Linked DNA regions of Homo sapiens: all the other regions are linked to region 1. Evidence: promoter capture Hi-C in 16 types of primary human blood cells and fetal thymus (Javierre and others, 2016). All regions are on one chromosome and are shown on one strand. Each heading gives the region's core, a stretch centred on a gene start or on the middle of the fragment in contact. The rest is flanking DNA. Distances are from core to core; before and after follow the strand shown.

Region 1 (6,391 bases), core at 2,811-5,310:
TCTCCTGCCTCTGCTTCCTTCCTATTTAAAACGAAGCATGTGTCTTCAATAAACATTTTTTGAGTTTCAGACACTGAGTTAAGTGCAGGACGTAGAAAGAGGAATAAACTTGAGTCCAGTCCTTAAAAGAGCTCACAAGGCCGAGAAAGATGAGAAAACTAAATAAAATGTTTTATTTTTATCTGTCCTCACAATCTCTTCCCAGTAAATGTTTTAACTCCTGTTCTACAGGTAGGGAGCTAGACCTTTGTCCAGGGTATCATTGAGGTACTGACATTTGAGCAATAAGGAAAATCATTCTGGCAAAAGGAACAGTGCTAATAAAGTCACATGGCCTTGAAAGAACATGGTGTATTGGAAAACGTTAAGCAGGCAACCTGATACTGGACATTCCAAAATGTACATGTTACTGAATAGAGAAAGTAGTCCACAGCAGCTGTTTAGTCTTCTCTTAGTAGAATTGATGATTACATCAGCTAATTGTCGCCTTTGAAGGCAGGGCCAAAGAAGATGAAGCAGGGATAAATGAAGGATAAATGTTAATGGTTAAGGAAGAGAAGCATTCTAGGAAGCAAAAATGACTAACTGTGAAGTGATAATAAGCACTGTACCATAAATTTAGAGGAGGAAGATACTGCTATCAGCCACAGTGGCCAGGAAAGGTTTCATGGAAGTGGTACGGCTTCCTTTGGTCATTCAAAAAATATAGTTAATCCTTATTACTTACAGATTCTGTATTTGTGAGTTTGCCTACTTGCTAAAATTTATTTGCAATGCCCAAATCAATACTTGGAATGCTTTTGCAGTCATCTGTCGACATGAACAGAGGCAAAAAAATTTGAGTCACCTGATGCACATGTTCCCAGCTTTGGTGAAACAAGGGGATGCTCTGCCTTCCTGTTTTAGCTCTCACACTGGAAACAAGTGTCCTTTTCATGGTCTATTTAAGGCCACATTTGTTGCATTTTTGACCTTTTTGTGATTTCACTGTTTAAAATGCCCCCCAAGTGTAGTGATGAGGCTATCTGGGTCCCTAAGTGCCAGAAGGCTCTTCTTTCTTTTTAAAGAGAAAATACATACGCCAGGTAAGCATGAGTTATAGTGCCACTGGCTGTGAGTTCAATGTTAATGAATCAACTATATTAAATAAGGTGCCTTAAAAATTTTTTTTTTTCCTACATAAGGTGCCTTTAAAAAGAAACACACATAAAACAAGGTATTTATGGGCTGGTTGACAAACATTTAATAAGAGGCTTGAAGGAACCTAATCCTGCATTTCTCCTAGGAGCAATGGTTCCATATTCACTAATTCAGCATTTGTGGCTTTTTTACAGAACCACCGTGAATAAGGATTGGCTGTATATATTAGCAGCTGTTCTTGAAGCGGGGGATTCAAAGCTATAATCCACTAAAGAACAGATAATCACATACTTGCAAAAATAAAGCTATGAGTGCTATAAAAGAAGCAATCACAGGCTGATGTCAGAAAATCTCAGAGGGACTCTCGCTTTACAGAAGGGAGGTCAAAGATGGATTTCCAAAGGCGATGCTGTATGCACTGCATTTTGACGCTTAAGTAGGAATCTATCAAATGAAAGGTAGAGAAACACATTTTGCAATGGCTCAATTTAGTGAGAGGACACACTTCTGTGGAGACAAACGTTTACTCCCTCTTGAATGCTAATTTGTCATGTTGCCTTCTGATTAACCCCAGCCCTGTGATTATTACTTTATTTACTGTCCTTAGTTTAACAACAAAGCAACCCTGATGTTATCACACAAATTACAGGCTATGATGCATATAGCATTCTTGCCTGTCTGGAGGGTTGCCTTTAAATGTCTCTATAGAGTACGTACACCCTTTCCTTATGGCATGTAAGTACTGGTCTGGGGAGTAAAAGGGCAGACATCTACCTGTCTTGCTGCCACTGAAGACCATGCTTCTGTCTGTAAGTTACCCCCAACAAAACACTCTTTACTGACCAAACTGGATTTGTCTGCTTTGTTCATTTGATTTCTCCTTTGATGTTTGGGGGGCACTTTGCATAAAGGGCCTTTTCATGGAACAACTTATTTTAAGGAACTCAAAATAGTTTAGGATGGCTGGAGCAAAGACTGAAAGGAGTTTCTAGGCAAAAAGGAAGGTGTCTGATTTATGAAAGTCCCTTTATAGGATGTTAAATAATGTGTTTTATTCTAAAGATAATGTGGAAGTTGAAGATTTTAAGCAAGAAAGTGACATGATTAGATCAAAATTTTAGAATTACTGCTATTAAAGGCAATGATGATGAGGGCAACTGAAGATGAACTGAGATGGAGGTCAGCATAAAAGGCAAAGATATTAAAAGGCTTTTGCTATTATTTAGGAAGAATAAAAGACTTTAAATAAGACAGTGACAGTGGTATGAGAGATGGATGGGCAAAGTTTGAGCAGTCAGGGAAAGAAGTAGAAGCGTTCTCTGTGGAAAATAAAGTGAACAAATGTTTGGAGAAAGGGAGGGTGAGCAAATCAGTTTATCTGGGGTATACAGTATTTGATAGAAGCTTTGGAAGGCTGAAGTGGAGAGCCAGAGTAATGGAGTAGCTGGTGATAAGGTTGAAAATATTGGTGGCGTCAGCCTGTGGCAAGGCTACAACAAACAGACTAAACAAATATAATTTTAACTTTCGGCAGTATTAAATTTATAAACAATTTTTATTGTAAAATACATATAAAACCTACCGTTTTCATTAAGTATATGGTCCACTGCATTAAGTACATTCATATTGTGCAACCCACACAACACCACTCATCTCCAGAATCTAAATCATCCTAAACTGAAACTCTATTATCCACTGAAATATAACTCCTCATTTCCCCTTCTCCTGGGCACCCTCTCCACCCCTGCTCTTGCTACCATTCCACCTTCTGTCTCTAGGAGTTTTGACTACTCTAGGTACTTAATGTAAGTGGAATCATAATATTTGTCCTTTCATGTCTGGTTTATTTCACTCAGCTAAATCACTTTAATCAACACCCTGGTTATTCAGTAGCTGGATTCTAATTTGTATTCTACTCTATATGCTGTATTTTAAAACAAATGTCTTGCTTTGTAGTTCATAATCTTTCCACCTAATCCTTAAAGACACTTCACTCTAGCAAATTATAAACTCAAGAGTTCCTAAGAACAATTTAGCCTATCGGTGTCTCTCATAAAGAGCTTTTATTGATCTACTTACTGAAAATGTCTTTAGATTGTGAATATTTTCATTCCATTACAGTTCATGGAACGTAGACCCTTTGTAAAATTCCACCTAGTATCTAAATAGAACTCAAGCAGGAATCAAACTTATTTGATCACCCAGGAAAATAGTTTATTTATTTGGGTTGCTAATATGAAGACTCTCTCTTTTGATACTATATAATTTCCCGATCTGAGATAGGGCTGAATTTGCTCTAAATAAAGAGAATTTTAAAAATAACAAAACTTATCTTTAGCTGGGGGAAAGTGCAGGCTGGAAACTACCTGAGAGACGTGAAGGTTCTCTCACCTTTCCCTTGTGGGCAGCCCTCAGTCATTAGGGCTCTACCAGCAAGTCAAGTACTGTTGGACAAGACACTAATCCTCTGGCGGTCTCATTGGGCTCCATTAGACCAGCCTGTGTTTACAAACCTCGTTCACATCACAGCATACACAGAATATGATACTGGTAGGGCACTTAGGTAAACTGAGGAGGTAGTGTGCTCGGCACCTGGAACCTACGGGCCGCCTGGTGTCGCGCACGCGGGAGTGTACGCTCTCAAAGAGCGATCCATCCGGCAGGACCGTTCCAGCTGACAGGCCACGGCCGTCTTACCGGGGACGAGCTGGGGTTCCCGCTGTTTCTGAAGTCAGCGGTCTTTTCCTCCTTGTAAGAAATAAGGTCTTTATATCATAAAGGTAAGCAAAGAATAAAAAGGCACAAAGGCCGCAAGCAACGCACACACGCAAAAATCGAACTACAGCACTCGACCCGCGCATTCTCCGCCGACCTTACGTCTCTCCCAGCAGGCTCCGGGAGCCACCGCGAGACTTCATCAATTCTCGCGAGATTTACCGGCAGCCATCTTCTTGGGGGTGCTGGGAGCCGGGAAGACCCCCTGAATCGTTCCCATTGAGCTGCCCTTCGCCTTCGCTTTCTTTACTTTTGCCTTTTCGACGTAGCCAACAAGCACCTGGTCCCGAGGCTGAGAGAAGGCTCGGGTCTAAGCGCGTGTCGCGCTTCCGGTCTGGGTAGATTTGCTGGGGAAGAGGGAAGGGGGAGGGCCCGGGCAAACCGTTGCTGTTTCAGCCCGGGCTGGGGGCCGGGGACGGGGAGCTCCTGGCACCCCGTGCACTTGTGGCCTGCGGCGGTCCTTGCAGAGCTGTTCGCCGACCGGGGCCCGCGGGAACCTGCCACCGGCGCCTCCCACCGCGGCCCACGCGGGCGGCGCGCGGAGGAGGGGGCGGGGGCAGCGGCGGCTGTAGCGGCCGCGACCTGGGCGGGCGGAGGAGTGTGACGGGCCTTAGGGCCGCTGTGGATGGTTTCTAAAATGATCATTGAAAACTTCGAGGCACTCAAGTCCTGGCTCAGCAAGACTCTCGAGCCCATGTGAGTATCCGGGGGATATCTCTTTGCAGGGATGGCAGTGGGAGATAGGCGGACCCAGAGATCTGTGCAGTTTCCCCAAGTGCCTGCGGTGGAGGCCGAAGCGGTGAACGGAGGTCCCAGGGTTCTGTGGCTTCTCCTCCTCGTCCACCTCGCTTCCAGATTCAGGATACCCCCGAGAGCCTGAGTCGAGCTTTATTTTATTGCTGAGCTGCTCTCGTTTTCCCGTTATATATAGACCGTCTCCAACCCCCACCCGCAATATTTTCCGGGGGCCTCAAAATCGGTTTATTTTAGTGAAACCGACTGTATTTTACTTCCTACAGATTATTTTACCTTGTTTTTCTAAATGAAGTAGACGGCCTTTATTGGGGATTCGGGCAGTTCTAGCTTAAATCACTCACGTTTCACCTAAATATAATTCCTGAAAGCAAGGCCACGTCTCCCATGTGCTGTCTGGCTCATCTGCACCTCTCTTCACTGATTGAAGATGTAACAGGTGCTGAGGTGGCCAGTAAAATTCCCCTTTCCCGCCTACGCGTTCGTTAGCTTGGAGAGGAGGAAGAAAATTGAATCTTCATCCATATGGAATATTTAGCAGTTTTAAGTGGGATGCTATAGATAGATTTTGTGTTGGGGGCTGCGGTTAGAGTGCTGAAATAGTCTTAGATTGGAAAATTTAAGGAGTGTTTTGACGACTTGTTAATACAAAATATGACATGGACCAAAGTGCTTAATCAGAATTGGTTGATTTACAATAATGCAATGGGGAAAATTCACGTATTTAATAAAGTTATTAGGTACCTACTGTATACTACGGGAGGCTTTGGGGATAGAGCTTTTAAATTCTAAAATCGACAAGACATAAATAAATCCAGATATTAATAGAGTTGTGACTATTGTAATAATAGAGAATCATGTAAAAGTGATTATGAGGGGGGCTATTTCACATTGGTCAAGGAAGGACTCTCAGAGAAGGTGACATTGGAGTAACATCTAAAGAGAAGGGACCATGTGTGTCAAAGTCTTGGAAAAGAACATTCCTTGCAAAAGGAAGAGCAAATGAAAGGCCCTGTAGCAGAAGTGATTGTGGTGTGTTTCAGGAAGAGAAAGGCCACTGTGGCTGGAAAGAGCCTTGTGATGAGGGAGAGGATATAAAGGCAACAAGTTGGACAAGTAGGTAGGGGCCACATCATGTATGGGAAGACGTGAGATGATTTAAAGCAGACAAGGACTGATTTAATTTTGTTTTAACTCTGCCTATTTTGTAGAGACTGAAAGGGCAAGAATGGAAGTAAGAAGATTATTCAGAAGTGTGTTGTAGGCAGAGATGTGGCTAGTTTGCATTAGAGTGATGGTGGAGACAGGCAGATCCAAATACATTTCATAAGTAAAATTAATGGATTAAATGCGGGAGATGAGGGAAAGGGAAATCAAGGGTGGTGCCTTAGATAACCCAAGCAACAGAATGGGTGATATTAGAGAAGGCAGAGAACAGGTTAAGGGGAGAAGGAAAGTGGATGGCTAGTTTTGATAATAATAAATACAGTAAGTATGAAGTCTGTGGGATACAGCTAAGTGTGATAGCAGATCATTGAATATATGAGTCTAAAACTCAGGACAGGACTGGAGAAATCTGGAGTCATGCAGATAGTATTTAAGACGATGACATTGTGGGAAATTTCATAGAAAAAGTGTGTAGGTAGGGAAGAGAAGAGGGCCTAGTACTGAGGCAGGAGGAAAACTGGGCTTTATGTCATTAAAAAACAAGTGTATGGCAAAA
Region 2 (6,391 bases), core at 1,295-3,794, 2.2 Mb after region 1:
ATAAGAAAAATTATAAACTGAGCTTCATAGTAGTAATAGTGTGCTATGTTTCCCAACAATAACTATGTTAGGAAAACCTTGTAGGTTTTCTTGCTAGTGAAAATGTATATTTTCAGAAACAAGGATGATCGTAAGATACTGACTTTGCTTGTACAAGATATAAATACTTTTGAAAACAAAAGAGTAAATCTAAAGAAAATTTTGACTATTTCTTAGGCATTAACTAATATCGCAAGATTTTTTTAGTAACCTTTAGTGTTTTATACAAATGAATATTAGGGAAAATTTTAAGAAAGCTAATTGATTAATTTTCAGCAAAGCCTTAAGGTGCCATTGTCATTTGCCGTATTTATTTATTTCTTTATTTATTCATTTATTAATTTTTATTTTTGAGACAGAGTCTCACTCCATCACCTAGGCTGGAGTGCAGTGGTGTGATCTCAACTCACTGCAACCTCTGCCTCCCGGATTTAAGCGATTCTCATGCCTCAGCCTCCTGAGTAGTTGGGACTACAGTCGCATGCCACCAGGCCCGGCTAATGTTTGTATTTTTAGTAGAGATGGGGTTTTACCATGCTGACCAGGCTGGCCTTGAACTCCTGACCTCAAGTGATCCTCCTGCCTTGGCCTCTGAAAGTGCTGGGATTACAGGAATGAGCCACTGTGCCTGGCTGCCATTTGTTTTTGACCATATGAGTTTGAGTCGAAAATATAAAGCACAGTTTCATTTATAGAGAATCGTCTAGGATTTCTTCATTAGCTTATATACAAAGCCCAGACTCCTAAGGCATTGGGAGCATTGAAGGATTTCCATAACATCCAGCATCTTTTTTGACTTTCTACCACTACTCTTCTACAGCTGTCTTAATGCATTAATGAAATTAATAATGAACACCTTGTCATTTCCTGACCTCTTTTGTACTTCCATACCTCTACAGATTTTTTCATGACATTCTCCTGCTTCTTTAAATGCCCTTTATTCTTCTTTCAATTCCAGCTACAACCAATAAACATTCCTTCCACTCTGTTACCTAGTACTTTGTAACTTGTTTATATCCTTTAGAAGATGCCCTTATTTATTGTCTTTTTTCTTCTTCTAAATTAATAATGTTTGTATAGATATTATGTGACAGACTCCAAACACCTATCTGACTTAATTCATTCTAAAGGACAACTCTATGAGCAGGATATTATTTTCACCACAGTTTTCAGGTGAAGAAGCTAAGGTACTGAGAGGATAGAGTAACTTGCCCTGCGTTGCCCTGCTAGCAGGTCACAGAGCTGGGCCTTGAACCCAGGCTGCCTGACTCCAGGGCCATTTTCTTAATATGCTGCCTTTCAAAACTATTTAGCTGAATGAATGAGCTTTAAAACTAAAGTTCAGATTTTTATTTTCCAGCAAAATTTGAATGTTTTTTAATATCAGTTTAAAACATTCTAATTTTAATATGAAAGTTTTATAACATTTAAGGATATTGTAGAATTCAAGAAGAGGAGGAAGAAATGTAATTCTATCACCATAACATAAATAACTATATTTGCTTGCATTCTTGTCCAGACTTCTTAGAGTGTTTTTAATGTTGTTTGATAAGAATTTTATAATACAGTTAGTTTCATGTTTTTGTTCACAAGGGATTTTGAAAAAATAAATATATGTGACAGAGAAGTAAGAAAATATTGTTTTTGACTCACTAATTTTTTCTCAGAGAAAAATATGCAATGATGTTTGATGAGCCTGTTCTCCTGCAAGCTGGGTGGTGGTATGTGGCATGGGCCCGAGTGTCAGGACCCAGCAGTGACTGTGGATCTCATGGACAGGCATCTATTACCACAGATGATGGGTAAGTAAATGCCCAAGTGTTACTTAAGCAATACTTATTTTTGTTAGAGGAATATTGTTTTGAAAATTCAGAGTACTTTCAGCAGGATTCAAAAGCTTAGGAAGACTAGAGCATAATATAACTGCTAAAAATTAAATTCATGTAACCTCATGCCAAATTGAGGTCTAGACAGAACAAGGAGATAATAAGACCACTGTACTTTGCTCCTGTCAGATGGTATTTGTATATATTTCTGGGTATTACATTGTTTACGAGCTTGATTACCAAATTAGAAATTATATAGAGGAAGGTGACAAGGAAAATGAGGAGTTTGGAACCATAAAAAAGAAGTAGATATGTGATATTAAATTTGATAGTGCATGAGAAAACAGTTTAAAATTTCAAAGCTTCAGCAATGTGTGTTATTTTAATAAAATATAGGGAAAATTTTGCTGTTTTAAAATAACTTTCACGTATAGAGTACTTTTCAGTTCATATTCTTATATTTTATCTGATTTGATGCCCTCAATAGCTTTGTGAAGCAGTTATTAGCCCCATTTTATACTCCAGGGACTAGAGAAATAAAAAGGTGAAATTATTTGCTATTTCCTGAGAGTCATGTGGTTAAAACCAAGGTCAGACCTGTAACCTGTTGACTCTAAATCCAACATTTCAATATTCTATTACTATGATTTATGTATTCTAAAGGACTATCATTTGTAAGATAAATTCAGTTTATTCTTGATTACTCCTGAGCATAAACTATTTGAAATCAGTTGAAGTTATATAACAGTATATATTCCAGTGCAGGTCAATTCATAACAAAGCTGACCAAAAAAAGAAATAGACTTATTTGTGAGGTGAATTTCCTGTTGCTGAATATTCAAGGAGACTACTGTAGAAAAATCACATCTGTTGTTATGTGCATCAACTTAAGAATGTCTTTAGAACTAAGTGACTACTTTGACCCTGGACTGTATGATTTTCATAGACAGTTCATTCAGACTTGGAATGTCATGGCACACTGAGGCTAAAGCTTATCATGCAGCTAGTCAAGCAGATATTATACTACTTAGTTGTAAGTAGAAATTTTAGAAGTTTACTGCTGTGGTTAAAGCTGAGTTGGAGAGCTAGGAGGGACAGGACAGCTACTCATTTAGGAGTCCTAATCACGTTCAGTTCTTTCATTTTACTGACTAACCCATTCAGAGCTAGAATGAAAATCTAGAAAATACCTTTTTGCTTTTCTTTATGTAAAAGAGTGAATCATTTTCATTGACATAAGATTTGAAAACATGTTTCTTAAATTTCTTATTTCCTGTAATGATCATGTTGTTTTTGGTATCATTGTTTTCTCTTCTTAGGGTTGTTTTCCAGTTCAAGAGTTCAAAGAAATCAAATAATGGTACAGATGTTAATGCGGGTCAGATACCTCAGTTATTATACAGGTATTTAGCATATTTATACTGAATTAGTATGGTTTATTATTTTGCTATAATGAAGTAGAATCATTACAAAACGTGGCATAATAGGGAGAAATTATTTGAAGCATTCAGCAAATTATAATATGCTGGTAGAACTATAAATATATTTAACAAAAACAGTTAATATTTTGTATATTTTTAAACATTTTCCATACAGGCTTAACTTTAAACTTTGCCTGATTACTCAGATTATCTGTATTATACCAATAACAATATTTTACTGACTTTAAAAAAAATCTATCCATTGATTTTCTTACTAATTTCAAATGTTGTAAAAGAATAAAATTTGTCTTGGAGAAGTGAGATTGCAGGGAAGATGGGGAGGACTATAGATGCAGGCCTGGTTGATATATTGTAGTCTCATAAGACTGATAAAATGAGTTGGAAAATTCCCTACTGTTGGTAAATTTTCACCTTTAGCTAAAATACCAAATAATAACTTGCTCATATAATATTTACTATATTTTTAACATTATTGAAAAATTTTAACTTACAATAATTTAAGCATGTATAAAGGCATATGCCTGTGTTTACCTTATTTATTTCTAGACTACTGCAATACTTTTAGAATAAAGAATTCAAATGGATATAAACCGTTACTGAAAAATGTTGTCATTCGTTAAGCAGTAAAAAATCAAAGGAAATGGTCTAGAACTGTGATTCTATCTCCCTATCTTTCTTTCTGGTAATCACTTTGTGGTTACAAACATTATTTTTCCCCAAAAGGTTTTTTCGTTTGTTTGGTTTTTATGCACCGTGCAATCTGTTATAGTTACTGTTTGTAATATGTAGCTCTACAAACATAACGTGTTGCATTGGACTACTCCCAGGTACTCACTGGTTGAATAACTTTTAAATAACAGCATTAATAGTAGCATTACTAGAGAATATAAGTTATATGTTATATACATTATATATGTTCTCTAAGAAGAGGAAAAAGCCTCTACTACTCGGTCTTGCGAAGGTAGGATTTAAAGGAAGTGCCCATATGCTAAAAACTTTGTTTAGCTTGGAAAAATGTTTCAAAAAAGCCCTGTATTGGCATTACCTGGCAAAAAAATTTAAATATATAATTTATTTTCCCATTCAAAAATGTATAATATACTTTAAAAAGAAAAAATGACATTGGACTTTCTAACATAATTTTATATGTGTCTACTGCCTTTAGACTTCCAACCAGTGATGGCAGTGCTTCAAAAGGCAAACAGCAAACCAGTGAACCTGTACACATTTTAAAGAGGTCTTTTGCAAGAACTGTCTCAGTGGTAAGCCATGTTTTAAAAAATTTCAGCTTTTCTCTTCAGTCCTCAGATACATTTTGATGTTTAGAGTTTAGCTGCTCTTGTAAGTTTATCTTAGCCTAGATTTATAAACTCAGATTTGGTTTTGTATTCACATTTATATTCTAGACCACAGATAAAGTATACTTTAAATCATAGAAAAATGGAGGTGTTGGCCTATGATTTTAACATGACCAGATGAATTGGCCTTGCTGTTTTTGAAACAAATAACGATTTGCTTTTCTAGTAAATCATATATGAATGCATATGCTGAATGAATTAGAAAATGAAGGAAAAGTTAAGGATGGTGCTGGCCCAAAAAAGCGTGATTACTACTTGAGGAACTAGGTGGAAGAGTTGCATATCTAACTAGGAAGTTTGTTGAACCACTTGCCATCCCCATTGTACACATGAAGAAGCACAGTGCCATTGAGGTTAACAGTGCAGAATGGAAAGTCAACATGATGTAAATAAATGAAAGTATAAATTAAGGTCTTGATCTCTCATGTATTAATTGAGGATTCTTACGTATGTTACCTAAGTAAATTACATCATAGCATTTTGAATTTCTAATGAGATAAGGGGTGTAAGATGTTTTTGGAACTGTAAGGCACCATCTGAATGTGATTTATTAATATAGCTAGTAGTCTTTCATATTAGTAAAATGCATAGGAAGAATGTTTCTTTCCCTTTTAAATTTATTTTTCAACCCACCAAGTGAATATATATTCCTGGTAGGAATGAGATAAAAGTATCCTAAAAGTATATGAAAGATTTTTCTCCCATTCTCATGATCACCATATATACCTACTATTTACATTTTGGTGTGTATCTTCCCAGACCTTTTTTTTTTTTTTTTTTTGGTGAGGCAGAGTCTCGCTCTGTCGCCCAGGCTGGAGTGCAGTGGCACGATCTTGGCTCACTGCAACCTCCGCGTCCTGAGTTCAAGCAATTCTCCTGCCTCAGCCTCCTGAGTAGCTGGGATTACAGGCGCCTGCCACCACGCCCAGCTAATTTTTGTATTTTTAGTAGAGAGGGGGTTTCACCATGTTGGTGGTGGTCTCGAACCCCTGACCTCGAACAGGCTGGTCTCGAACCCCTGACCTCATGACCCACCCGCCTCGGCCTCCCAAAGTGCTGGGATTACAGGTGTGAGCCACCGCACCCGGCCTTCCCAGACCATTTTTATATGCAAAAAAACTTATTAGTACGTATCAAATACAGGATGCTCTACAACATGCTTGCTTGTTTCTTACGATACTTACAGTTTTCATCTTTTTTAGAAAATTTCGTATTATATATCATGGACATCCTTCCCTGGCAGTACATTTGGCTCTGTCAGTCTTCTCCGTTTGCGTACCATTATTCTAATTTATTCAATCTGATATCTATCAAAGAACCACTTTGATTCTCATTTTTTGTTATTTCATCTTGCTTCATGAGCATCTATACACATACATCTTTAAATACTTGTGTACTTATGTGCATACTTCTACTGGAAATATGCCCATTTAAAGTTTGGTATATCCTCTCAAAGTTGACCTTCCAAAAGAGCCATGGCAGTTTGTAGAGCTTGTGCTTTGAATAAAAGACTATGAGAACTTTGGCTTCTTGGTAACTTTGCATCCTATTAGTCTTAAGTTGAGTTTGGTATCTTTTGATTCAAATAAGGATCTTTGACTCTGTTATGCTTTCTTTAGTGATCTCACTTTTCTGTGCTTGGTAACCCCTTTGTATTTATGTTTAAGTGGTTTTGTGGCCATTAGGTAATTGTAGACTTTATATACAAAACTTATTCAGTCATTTC
Region 3 (6,391 bases), core at 1,776-4,275, 2.2 Mb after region 1:
CATGTACAGATGTTTTTGTCTTGTTATTATTTCCTAAACAACAGAGTATAACAACTATTAACATGGTGTTTACATTGTATTAGGTATTATAAGTAATCTAGAGATGTTTTAAAGTATACAGGAGGATGTGTAGTTTATGTACAAATACTATGCCAATTTATATAAGGGATTTGAGCATCCCTAGAGTTTGGTAGCTGCAGGGGATCCTGGAACCAATTCCCCATGGATGCTGAGGGATGACTATAACCTGTGTGGGGAAGAACGTGGCAACTTTTTGTTCTGTTTCTCATTTGAGAGTTGGGACACAGAAGAAGAGGGTTTATTTGTATCATCGTGGCTATTGTTGTTGTTATTTAGCTGGTGGTTATTTTGTGAGCCATAGAAACTGGGAAAGGTGCATTGCAGTTAGATAAGATGGGGTCTCAGTCATGTATGCAGCAAAGAGGGCACTTCACAGAAAATAATTGGCAAATAGTATTTCATGGTCTTGCCAGAGTGGAAAGGGAAGTAGTGAAAAGCATGGCCATGTTATAGTCAGGTTATGTTATCTTACTGTGCACTTGGCACTCAGAAGAATGAGCAGCATGAGCACAACATCCTTCCACACCACACTGAGGTGTGTTGGCCGCTGAGAGGGAAGGTGTTCATGTCAGCTTTTAAAATGAAGAGATTACCTAAAAACATTACTTCGTGGTCCTGATTATACCAGTGAACACCATTCTTCGATTCCCAAGTCTGAAGAGATATAGGGCAGTTTCAGGCCAGACTTCCTCAGGTAATAATATTGTAGCAATATGCTCAATATTTTAAATTGCTTGAATTTATCGTCTTCATGAAATACGATAGCATTTAATGTTGAAACAAAATATCAGGGTTTCTTATGAAGATTAAACATTGGTAGGATCTACACAGTGGTATAGTAACTGGTAGATGCTACATAGTCATCGAACCTGGAACTGTAGAGGCAAGGTTCAGCTCTTCACTTCTTACCAACCATATGACTATAATTTCTTAAGATTAAACACTGGTGGGATTTGTTTTAACTGCCCAAAGTTGTTCTTTTCCAGCATGGAATGTTTTGGTCCTTGTTCCATTGAGTGGTAACTGAAAGACTGATTACATGAAGTGTGGGCAGAGCTACAACGGATAATGCAGTAGTCATACCTATATACTGTGCCTAGTGGATTAGATATTCATCAAGACCGCTTCAGTCTTAAGCACTCAGTTACCCTGTCTGTCTGGACTTTTGTGGAACTTGGAAAGTAGCAACCAAGAACTCTGTTATTAATTCAGAAAGGAGTTGATTATGTCTATAGAGGAACAATCTTGGGAGGAACAAAGCTTCTATAGCATATGTATTAACTACAACAAAGCAAAACATTTACAGATAGTTGAAATAAAGGGTTACAGTTGGAGAATATGTTTGAAAAGTCTCTAGTAATCAAGAGCTGTTAACTGGAATTTACTATATAGCACACATTAATAATGTGTTGTTTAAGATCAATATTGTGGTATGCATGATAATGAAGATGGAAAAGTGTTATTGATATTCTCTTTATTTAATGTGTTATATTGCCAGAATGACTGAGTTCAGTCTCTAGGTTGGGTCCTGATTCTGTCACTTGGTAGCTATATGATCTTGGCCAGGTTACTTAATCTTCTTGTGTCTCAGTTTCTCAAGTTTAAATATCCATAATCTGATGATACTTTCTTCTTCTGTGATGCAGCCCTACTTTATTTCCCTTTGACTTTATGCCCCACAGCCCTCTACTTTTTTACTCTTTTTTCACCCTTTTTTTAACTTTATTTCCTACTCAAGTTAAAGACTGTTGCTTAATTTCTTCACCTATACTCTTACCAGTTTCTTCAGTTTTCCCACTCTCTTGGTCGTGGTGCTAGGACATGATAAAACCGCAAACATGAATCAATCTTAATATTTCCTATGCCTATACTTAGGCTTCTGGAAGGTAAGAAATCACCATACCTATGCAGATTGATACTTAATTTCCAGATTCAACCAGTTCCTGTACAATGGTCATTAATCCTCCTGTTGTGTAGTATTGAACTATTTGACTTAATACCTTTTGAGAGTTTGATGAAAGACATGGGGTCTCTATGAAAAATACAAGAATATACACTTAAAAATTTGCTTGCAAATTTAGGAGATCTTTTGAAGCTCACTCATGGACTTCCTAGAAGTCCTTTATATCTGAGTTGAAAACTCCTGCTCTCGGTATGTATCTATTCCATCTACCACCACACCTTTTCTCGAATCTTCAAACTCTCCACTCACCTGTTTCCTCCTTTTAGCATAGGATCTCCATGTACATTGCAACAGATGTAAGAAATTATTCAGCCCACCAACCCTGCAAACCTACTTCCATCCATACCACTTCTCTGCTTCTTTCCTCATGTTACAGTTAAAGAGGAACCTGTTGTGTCCTTGCTATGAAACCTAGCTGTCTTTTCCTTAGAGATCTATTTCTGTTTCCTGTCTTCTCTCTAACCTTTGTCTTTAGCGTCTTTATTTTGAGTCACCTTTTAAACTTCCTCAAATCTCTTATCATTAAAAAAAAAAAATCCTCTCCTTCAGCTTCATTTTTCCTTTAGCTGCTGGCTCTCCTTTCTTTTTCCCTTTAGTGCTGGGATACTTAGAGCTACTTTGTGTATTCTCTGACTCCTTATCTGCTGCATTGTGGTGCCTGCTTCCACCAAAGAGACCTCCTTCTGCTAAATCGAGTGGTTAGGTGTATGTCTCCTTAGAGCATTTGGCATGTACTTTATTTTCCACGCTTGAAACCTACTCCTCCAATGAGTCTCCTTGAGTTCTTTCTTTCTGTGTGGTTTATTCTAGATGTCTGTGAGCTGTTCTTCCTCGGTCTGTATCTAAAATGTTAGAAGAGACTCATAAGGGAAATTAGGATCTCTTCTTTTCTCTCTCAAAGAGTCTTCCTAGATCTCATTCATTCTCATAGCTTAAGTGAATATTACCACTATCTACTCTGTTGCTTAAGCAAAAAAAATCTTCCTTGCCCCATATCGATCATCTGCCAAGTTTCATCAATTCTGTTCCTTACATAGCTATCAAAGTCACCATCTCTTTCACTCTGCACTGCTCCTAGTTAAGGCCTTCATCATAAATTACCCAAACTACTATATAATTTTTAAAATTTAAAGTGTCATAATTACATTTCTCAAAAGCAGAGCTCTCCTGCTATGTGTGGACTATTTCTATAATGGTTGTGTTTCTAATTACAGATAATGGTTACTAAAAATGGCTGTTAAAAGTAGGAAAGGATACTAGGATGTCATTTATCATAATAGTTACTGTTCATTAAGTGTTAACTGTGTGCCAGACGCTGATCCAAGTACTTGACACGTATGGGCCTCTTTACTGTTCACAGGAACTCTGTGGGGGTAGACACCGTTTGTTAGTATTCTCCATGTGATAAAGAGGAAACTGAAATACAAAAAGAATGAAAAACTTGTTCGAAGTCTGGTCGCATTATTATTAAGTTGGGGAGCCAGGATTCACAACCAGCCAGTCTAGCTTTAAAGCCTGAGCTTGTAGTCACTGCTCTAATGCCTCTCATGATACTGTGTTTTGACTCATTAACTGTGATTCTAAGATCTAAACTTATAGCTTAGTGATAAAAGTTAGAAAAGATGATCATAAAATTATTTCATCTAGTTCCTGGATTGAATTTCTGTTAAGGCATTACATGATTTTTATTTCATCCAATAATTATTTATAAAGATCTCTAACAGGCCAGTCAGTATACAGAGTACCAGATTAAAAATAAATGTAGCACCAGTTTTTCAGAAATTATTATGTGTCTATAATTAGGGTAATTACATTTAGAAGATCTTTTTGATGATCTCCTTAAAGTCAGCAACTGTCTTTTTCATCTTTGTTTACCTAGTACCTGGAATGGAGATAGGCGTTTAGCACTTAAATGTTTACTGAATATTCTTATGAGTGCCTTTTATCTTTCCTACTCCTTGTTGCATTGCTTACTTATTGTTTTTATTTTAGTTGAGTTTTGTAAGAAATTGACTTACTTTTTTTTTTTTTAACCTAGGGGATGTCCCACTCTTGTTCAAGCATTGCCAGGCCCTAGCACACAAGTCACTGCAGGCAGCAACCATACGGCAGTACTTTTAATGGATGGACAGGTCTTCACATTTGGAAGTTTTTCTGTAAGGAATTTTTAAAACATTAATAATATTGCATTATACCATTGCCTTATAATTTGTCTATATTAGCTCTTTTTTCTGTTTCCAGAATATAATATAACAATTATATTATAATTGTTACATATGCATATTTCATGCCTTCATCCCCAACACACACTAAACCTGAATGATATTCTTTGAAGTAATTTTCCTCTCTAGCTCAGCATTAGAATTTATTGAATTTAACAGCTTTGTTAGAATTGGACATGTTTATTTCAGATTAAAGTCTTTTAAGCATTCAATAGAGCTAATTCTGTCATAGGAAAGGTTATTTCTCATCTAACTTGTAGAGATGAATTTTTCTTAACACATAGAACTATGCTATTTTGTAACCTTTTAAAAGCCTAGTTTTTTTTATTTGATTTGTTTAAAATTATACTTTCTTTTTTCCTTTTCCACCCTCTGAGTCTATCCGCCTGTCTGTTACATAGGCGCTTGTGCACATTCTCTCCCTCTCTCTGCACCAAAGCTTAAAGAGTGAAAATGCTCTAAGAATTTTGTGTAGTTTGGGCATAGTAGATATCAAGAAAAATCTTTGCGAGACTGTGCTAATACTCTTGTACCATTTCAGATGTGGATAATTACTAAGAACTCTTGAACCTAAGTGTCTGAGATGACATTTACAGCTTTTGATTTTTTAAAAACTGTAAATGTGTACTTAAAATATTTTATTTGAAAATGGTTTCAAACTTACAGAAAGATTGCACAACTAAGAACAGTGTGTAGAATATCTGGTTAGTGTCTTTAACCAGATTCACCTATTGTTAACATTTTGATCCAGCATTTGCTTTATTATTGCACATGTGGCTGTTCTCTTTCTCACACACGCAGTGTGTGTGTATGCACAAATGTGTGTGTGTACGTATGTATATAAAATATTTTTTTTTCTCAAATCCTTTGACAATGTCTTGTGTACATTATGGCCCGTTACCTCCTACATACTTTAGTTTGTATTTTGTGAATTGACCTAATAATTATTTTTTGGCATTTCTTTCCCCTCCAATCTAGGATCAGGCATTACATTTGCCTGTTGTGTGTCTTTAGTCTCCTTTAATCTGTAACATTTCTACAGCTATGTATTGTCTATTATAACATTGACATTTTTGAAGAGTATATAGTACTGTTTTGAAAAATAGAATCCTCTTCATTTTTGTTTCTTTGATAATGTCCTCATGTTTAGATGCAGGTTGTGCACCCAGGCCAAGATACTCTGTAAGTTATGTTGTGTTTGCCCTCACTGCATCACATCTGAAGGCTCAGAATGTCCATCTGCTCTTCATTGATTATGGACATTTTGATCACCTGATCAAATGTCTGATTTCTGTACTGTTTCTCCTTTGAAACTATAAGCAACCTGTAGGTTGACACTTTTAAGATGCCTGCTTCTCATCAAAATTTCCCCCTAGATTTAGCATCCATTGATCATTCTTTCCTGAGCTAGTCTTTACTATAATGTTTAAAAAATGGTGATTTTTTTCAACTCCAGTAGGCACTTGGCCTTTTACTCTAAGCAAGAGCCCTCCTTTCCTGTTTACTTGTTTTTCTACTTATTATTGGTATAGACTCAGGTATTTGTATTTTCTTCATTATCATCTTTAATTATTTGGGTGCCTAGATTATCTCCGATTTGGCCAGCAGTAGCCCCTTCAAGTTGGCTCCTGTATTCTTGTGACATGCCCCTTCATTTTTTGGAGTGCTTCCTTTCTTTCCAGCATAACAAGTTGTTCAGGGTTTATCTTGTACAGGCCCTGTATGACTGTCCTAGAATCAGCCATTTCTCCAAGAACCCTGATTCTTTTTAGTGGGGAATAGTATTAGACACTAACTGGGCACTAGAAGTGTTCATTGCTACAGGACGTCTTTGGATCTCTGGTATGCATATATTTATATGTCCACATATATGTATGTATTTTAGAAATCATAGGCCAGGTGTGGTGGCTCATACCTATAATCCCAGCACTTTGGCAGGCCAGTGTAGGAGGATCACTCAAGCCCAGGAGTTTGAGACCAGCCTGGACAACATAGTGAGACCCCATCTCTATTAAAAAAATTAGCTGGGTGCCGTGGCACATGCCAGTGGTCCTAGCTGCTCAGGAGGTTGAGGTAGGAGGATCACTTGAGCCCTGGAGGTCGAGGCTGTAGTGAGAGCTGTGAT
Region 4 (6,391 bases), core at 1,831-4,330, 2.1 Mb after region 1:
AGGATATAGAGATCATGACGAGGTCACCTTAGAAACTGTCCATTACAGGGGGCCCTCACTGCCACCTAACCAGTGGATAATCCAGCTCCAAAATTCCATTTCAGACTCTGGTTCTTCAGACCACTCCCCTTACAACTGAATTAAGTTGGGCTCCCTGGGAAAGAGATTGGGAAACAGATGTAGACTGGCATACAAGAAGTTTATTGTGGAGTTCTGACAATACTACTAGTGAATGAGTGAGAAAAGCAGGATTGGTTGAGAGAGAAAAATGGAACTGTAATGTAACTGCAACAGAGGCCTTAGCTAATTGCACAGAGTTCTAAGAGCTGGAATGGCTCTTCAAAATCATTCTGAATTAAGGTAAGAGTGCCTTGTCTTTGTATATCACTTTGACCAGTTATTTGATGCAGGCACCCTCTGGAGAGGGGTTGTAACCTGGCATAAGGCAGTTCCCCAAGGCCAAGAGCAACTTATGGGCAGGGGTTTAGCTTTGAGCAGCCAGCAGTCAACACTCTCAACAGCTGGGGAATAAGAGCCTCATACCTGAAGGGGTATCTGGGAGGCACACTATAGTAATCTTTAATAAAATCCAAAGGCATCATATAAAATACAGTTCAGTGAACTTTCTGATGTTTTGACTTGATTAAAGGAAGAAAATTTAGGACCCAGGGGAATGAATGGGTTTTTATGCTTTTAAGTATTTTCCATAAATACATATTTCATTCGGACAGATTACTGATAGATTCTAGATAGGGAATGTGTCCTGAGAAGATGCTAGAGTTGGTATATCAGGTAGAATGCTTTGGCTGCAAGCAACAGAATACTTCATCAACAGTAGCTGAGACAATTAGGAATTTGATTTTTACCTTGTATAAAAATAAGTTTGAAACTTTGTTCAATGGTTCTATGATGTCAGGGTCAATATTTATGATGCTCTTGGCCTTATCTCATGCCTCTTGTCTCATGGCTATGAACATCAGCCATTCTGTCCATCTTTTAGGTAGAAAGAAAGGGAGAGAGAGAGAAGTAGTACTAGCAGATTTTCCCTCACTGTGCTGTCCTGAATTGTGTCACGATGCCAACTCTAGGTGCAGGACAGACTCACAGAGAAAATATTTCACTTTTTCCGGCATCCAGAATGGAGGCAGGCAAGGAAGAAGGGGATTTAGAATGGGTGTGAGTGAGCCAACTAATATTTTCAAAGCAGATTTCTGTTTTGCTGCTTGATGTCAGATCCGCAAGCTTTCAAGACCAGATGAAAGATGATAAAATGCCATCCTTTGGCTGAGAAACCAAATCAGGTTTATTATTTGGATGGAAGACCATCTGTACCATTCAGGGTCCAATCAGGAAAACAGATAAATGCATGCCAGGTCATTAAGAGAGAGAATTGAATATGGGGAACTAATTGCAATGCTACTCTAGGAATAGAAAAGCCAAACAAGGGACAGAGATATCTACAATCCCTAGGGCTGGAGACACCAAGGAGAAAACGCTGCTACCAGGGTCCACAAGCTGGGGCTGCTCAGTGAGAACTGGCTTTACGAGAGGTTACCTAATTGCAGCTGGACCATGGAAGGAGAAGCTGTTCAGCAGGAGCTGGAACCACAGAGGAGATGTTGCCTAAAGTTGGCGGGGGTGGGGTGCCGGGAGAGAGAGAGAGAGAAATTGATTCTCCTGCTGCCTACTTGCCAGTCACCCATTTTGCCCCCAGGCTGAAGCTAATTTGAAACTAGCTGGCAAGGGAAGCCTGACAAATGGAATTTGCAGGGATCCTTCCCCTGCTGTACAGAGCAGAGCAGGAGAATGGACAGGAATGGACTCAAGAGCAAATAAGCAGATTCCTGGCACACCACCCCACCAACACTGAGGTAGACTTTAGAAGTACCTGCAGGGATGCCACAGTTTTTCTCTGCAAGCAGTGTTGTCTTTGCTGCACCACAAAAATTAGTAATTAATTCAGTTCACAACAATTTGGCATCAAATAGGTAAGATTATTTTGTCTATCCAAGAAAATTCTGTCACCACAAGTTAATTTAGGAAGACTGTGAAATATTTTTTATGACTTTTATGTTCTAAAAACTTTTAAAATAGCTTCCGGTCTAGTTTGAAGGCAAACCTGATATGATATCAAAAAAGAGGCAAAATATTCTTAAGAAAAATTTTTTATGAAGAACTGGTAAATTGGCTCCTTTTTACTTTCTAAATATAAATGTAGAAATATTCATCAAAATAGGAAGCCAAACTAGGCAAGGTCAAGATTTTGATGTTAAATTCAGATTAACCTACAGAAAATGTAAATTATAGATGATTTATAGTTTTTGAATCTGGAGAGATACCATAGCTACTAGCCTTTTGAGAAGAAACTATAGTCTGTTTTGGCTGTTACATGTCGAAATGTATCCATCAGTAAAAATTCAAAACACTTATTGAATTTATGAAGGTAGGCAATGTGTTTTGTGAGTTAACAAATTATACAAGAATGGGTATTTTAGGGAAACAACTATTGTCTTTGGATTCTATTCTTCCTGTCATGTCAAGACACAGTAAATCTTTATTTGTGGACAGGACTCTTTGTTAAGAAAACAACAAGAAAACCAACTTTCAAATCCTAATCTATATAACTCAAATTGTATAACTGTTTTGTTACTTCTAGCACAAGATTAGGACATCCCTCAAATAAGGGATCATTAATATATTAACATAATATTGACAATAATAGCTATGGCCTGCTATGTAGTATGTTAAGCAAGTAAGTCATACAGATTATTTAATTTAACCCTCAAATAATCTAATGAAGTAGGTGCTATTATTATTCACTTTACTGATGAGAAGATGTAGCATGAAAGAGGTAAAAGTCTTTGAAAAAAAAGACCATGACTAATATAGTCATTTTAGAGCCATTTAGTTATATCAGGTTATCTGGATTTGGCAATAACCCTATTAAATATATTTAAAAGAAACATTAATATGACATAGTTGCTATTCTACATGAGAATTTCAATTATCCTCTTACTATTTAATTTTAGTAATAAAGATCAATCTAATATCACGCCAGTTAAAAATGGCTTATGGCCAGGCGCGGTGGCTCACGCCTCTAATCCTAGCACTTTGGGAGGCCAAGAGGGGGCGGATCACCTGAGGTCAGAAGTTTGAGACCAGCCTGGCCAACATGGTGAAACCCCGTCTCTACTAAAAATACAAAAATTAGCCAGGTGCGGCAGTGCGTGCCTGTAATCCCAGCTACTTGGCAGGCTGAGGCACAAGAATCGCTTGAACCCGGGAGGCGGAGGTTGCAGTGAGCTGAGATCATGCCACTGCAGTCCAGCCTGGGTGACAGAGTGAGACTGTCTCAAAAAACAAACAAACAACAACAAAGAAAATGGTTTCTATCCAAAAGACAGGCAATAACAAATGTTGGCGAGGATGTGGAGAAAAGGGAACACTTGAACACTGTTGGTGGGAATGTAAATAAGTACAACCACTATTAAGAACAGTTTGGAGGTTCCTCAAAAAACTTAAAATTGAGCTACCATATGACCCAGCAATCCCACTGCTGGGTATATACCCAAAGGAAAGAAAATCAGTATATAGAAGAGATGTCTGCGCTCCTGTTTGTTGCAGCACTGTTTACAATGGCCAAGATTTGGAAGCAAACTTATTGATGTAAGTGTCCATCACCCTATAAAGGGATAAAGAAAACGTGGTACACACATACACAATGGAGTACTATTCAACCATAAAAAGAATGAGATCCAGTCATTTACAATAGCATGGACTGAACTACAGATCATTATGTTAAGTGAAATAAGCCAGACACAGAAAGACAAACATCACATGTTCTCACTCGCTTGTGGGATCTAAAAATCAAAACAATTGAACTTATGGACATAGAGAGTAGGATGGTTACCAGAAGCTGGGAAGAGTCATGAGGAGTTTGGGGAGGGGAGATGGGGATGGTTAATGGGTACAAAAAAAAAAAATCAGAAAGAATGAATAAGACCTACTATTTGATAGCATAATAGGGTGACTATAGTCAATAATAACTTAATTGTGTATTTTAAAATAACTGAAAGAATGTAACTGGATTGTTTGTAACTCAAAAGATAAATGCTTGAGGGGATGGATACCTTATTCTCCATCATGTGCTTATTTCACATTGCATGCCTGTATCAAAATATCTCATGCATCCTATAAATATATACACCTTCTATGTACCCACAAAAAAATTTTAAAGTAATAACAAAATTTAAAAAAGATTAATCTAATAACTTATAAACTATACTAAAGTTTTCAAGGTTGAAATGCTATAGTTTTAAACTTTCTGTTTTTAGGACAATTATACTTTATATAACTTTCTACATCAGTTGTGAAAACATCCTCTAGGCTAAATGCATCACAACAATGAGATTTTGAAAGAATGTGATTTGCATTCAGATATATAGTATTGAATTCACATACTTAAAAAACATATACTAATATATTTTAGGATAATTTTTCACGGATGAAAATGTCAATATATGTCAATATATAACTTAGGATCCCTGGAACCTAAATTTTTGGATGTGGGAAAACTTGGACATATAATTTACATCTTTTAAAACTACCATGAATAAAAAAGAAAAACATTAACTCATCATGCTTACAAGTTACTGAATATCCCAAGGCCCTAAAAATATAGTTGTTTAAAGCATGAGGTTAAGATAGCCAGGGGATGCAATATGTAATTTATGTTTAAAATAATTTCGATAGCCATGTTGAATTTTTCCCTTCAGCTTGGAGTACTAAATATATTCTATGAAATATACTTTATTTTAAAGTGCAATATATTTGTCAAGAATGCACTATCTTATTACCCTTAAAAAGAGAAGGTCACTGAAGAGTAAAGCATGTCTTCACTCTTCAAGCCTAAGCTTTTTCTTTTTTTTTTCCCAAATTGTTCTCAGCTACCAATTTTGTTTTTAAATTCCCCAATACATTGTTGTACAAATCCAGGAAACAAACGCAGACTTTACCACAGCATTTTCAGCAGTCTCGATGTACCTAATAATATACATACTTCCTGTGTTTGTAGTCTTGTAGCTTTAGTACAATATTAACCCTTTAAATGAAACAACACTAATCTGTCCTCTTATATACACGTTATGGTTCCTGCCCTGTTATTTACTACATCAGCACGGGTAGCTTCCTTTAAAAACAAAATCGTTAAAGATGAGAGTAGGAAAAATGTAAATGTGATAAGAGTTCAAAAAACTGTGGTCCAGGTTTGCAATGTTAAGTGGAAAAGAACGACTAAATCTGTGATCACAAGGGGAAAGATGAAGCCATAGTCTTATTACATGGGCACAGGACAGAGAGATCTCTTTTGCGAAATGAGCATACCAACCACAAAGAATAAAACATACTACGCCCGTAATAAAATGGGCACAGGCAGGATTTGCCGTAGTTCAATGCTATTCTTTGAGGGCGAATGTGTCGTGGGTGAACTGCTGTCTAGCCCATTCCGACACCCAAGCCGCCCAGGCGGCCCCCACGCCCCCCGGCTGCAGCCCTCCCTGTACACACAAATGCACACACGCCCAGCCCGGCCGCTGGAGGAACTAAGATGGCAGCGCAGAAAGCACGGGGGCCGAGCTCGGTGGGGTGGGGAAAGAAAAGCAAAGCCCTCTGTGTTTTTTCATTCTGTATAGGTCCCCCTCTTTCCCCAAACACAAGGGCTGCGTAAGGCATTCGGTAGTAGAGCTCGCAGGAGCGGCGGGAGGGGACGCTTGCTTTGCATACTGCCAGAAACCCACGTCTCCGATCTGCAGCGACGGTTCAGGCGACCCTCGCGACTTGTGACCACACTCTCCTTCACGTCCCCTTGACAGTAGAAGTAAGGGTGACTCCAAATGCCTTTTTCTTTCTGGCATGCGCCCCACTCCCCCGCCATCCCAGGGGAGCCTTCCAAGTTGCCCAGCTGCCAAGGCGGTAGCTGTGGCAGTTGCAGGGACCGGGGAGCGCGCCGTGCGGAGGCAGGAAGAGGAGGAGGAGGAGAAAAAACGCTGCACTGGCTATCAATTTTGAGGAGAGCGACCGCTGCCGCTGCCGTGGAAGGAAACGCTGCCAACCGCAACAGAAATGCCACTCTCGGATACCTAAGTGAGCATGTGTGCGACTCTGCGCACGCCTAGTTGCGCAGCTCAATGACATCGGGCTTCTTAGCAAGTTATCCAGTTTCCGGGTTTTGAGTGTACCCATCAGGCTCCGTAGGGGCCTGTCTGGGACTGAACAGCAGTAAAGATTGAAGCGAAATTAATGAATGGTGGGAAGAGCCCGGAGACCAGGGCAGCCACGCGGGTCAATGTCCACTAGAAACTCTAAATGGGCAGTGACTGCACATTCCACCACC

Evidence for each region. Contacts are between HindIII fragments. The CHiCAGO score rates a contact against its expected background, and 5 or more counts as called.
Region 2: a contact is called between a fragment that was not itself captured here and the fragment with the promoter of RBM26 in region 1, in 1 of 17 cell types (total B cells). The highest score is 5.4, in total B cells.
Region 3: a contact is called between a fragment that was not itself captured here and the fragment with the promoter of RBM26 in region 1, in 1 of 17 cell types (total CD4 T cells). The highest score is 9.7, in total CD4 T cells.
Region 4: a fragment that was not itself captured here is called in contact with the fragment with the promoter of RBM26 in region 1 in 6 of 17 cell types (non-activated CD4 T cells, total CD4 T cells, naive CD8 T cells and 3 more); the score reaches 13.7 in non-activated CD4 T cells.

Annotation. Positions count from the first base shown.
Region 1 is chr13:79,403,924-79,410,314 of GRCh38, reverse strand. RBM26 (RNA binding motif protein 26) reads left to right here and starts at 4,060. Exons shown (of 22, transcript NM_001366735.2): 1 at 4,060-4,611. The coding sequence starts at 4,541. RBM26-AS1 (RBM26 antisense RNA 1) reads right to left here and starts at 4,006. Exons shown (of 7, transcript NR_038991.1): 1 at 3,838-4,006. RefSeq lists enhancers at 3,775-4,074, 3,404-4,395 and a silencer at 4,305-4,504. The HindIII fragment of the contact is 7,810 bases long and covers 2,547-6,391 here.
Region 2 is chr13:77,187,129-77,193,519 of GRCh38, reverse strand. It overlaps MYCBP2 (MYC binding protein 2), which reads left to right. Exons shown (of 83, transcript NM_015057.5): 28 at 1,707-1,841; 29 at 3,185-3,268; 30 at 4,473-4,569. Among named protein-coding and RNA genes, the nearest start is that of MYCBP2-AS2, 110 kb to the right of the region's middle. The HindIII fragment of the contact is 629 bases long and covers 2,230-2,858 here.
Region 3 is chr13:77,215,649-77,222,039 of GRCh38, reverse strand. MYCBP2 (MYC binding protein 2) reads left to right here. Exons shown (of 83, transcript NM_015057.5): 21 at 4,083-4,200. Among named protein-coding and RNA genes, the nearest start is that of MYCBP2, 110 kb to the left of the region's middle. The HindIII fragment of the contact is 3,364 bases long and covers 1,344-4,707 here.
Region 4 is chr13:77,329,067-77,335,457 of GRCh38, reverse strand. No RefSeq gene overlaps it. Among named protein-coding and RNA genes, the nearest start is that of MYCBP2, 5.2 kb to the right of the region's middle. RefSeq lists an enhancer at 5,784-5,863. The HindIII fragment of the contact is 3,671 bases long and covers 1,245-4,915 here.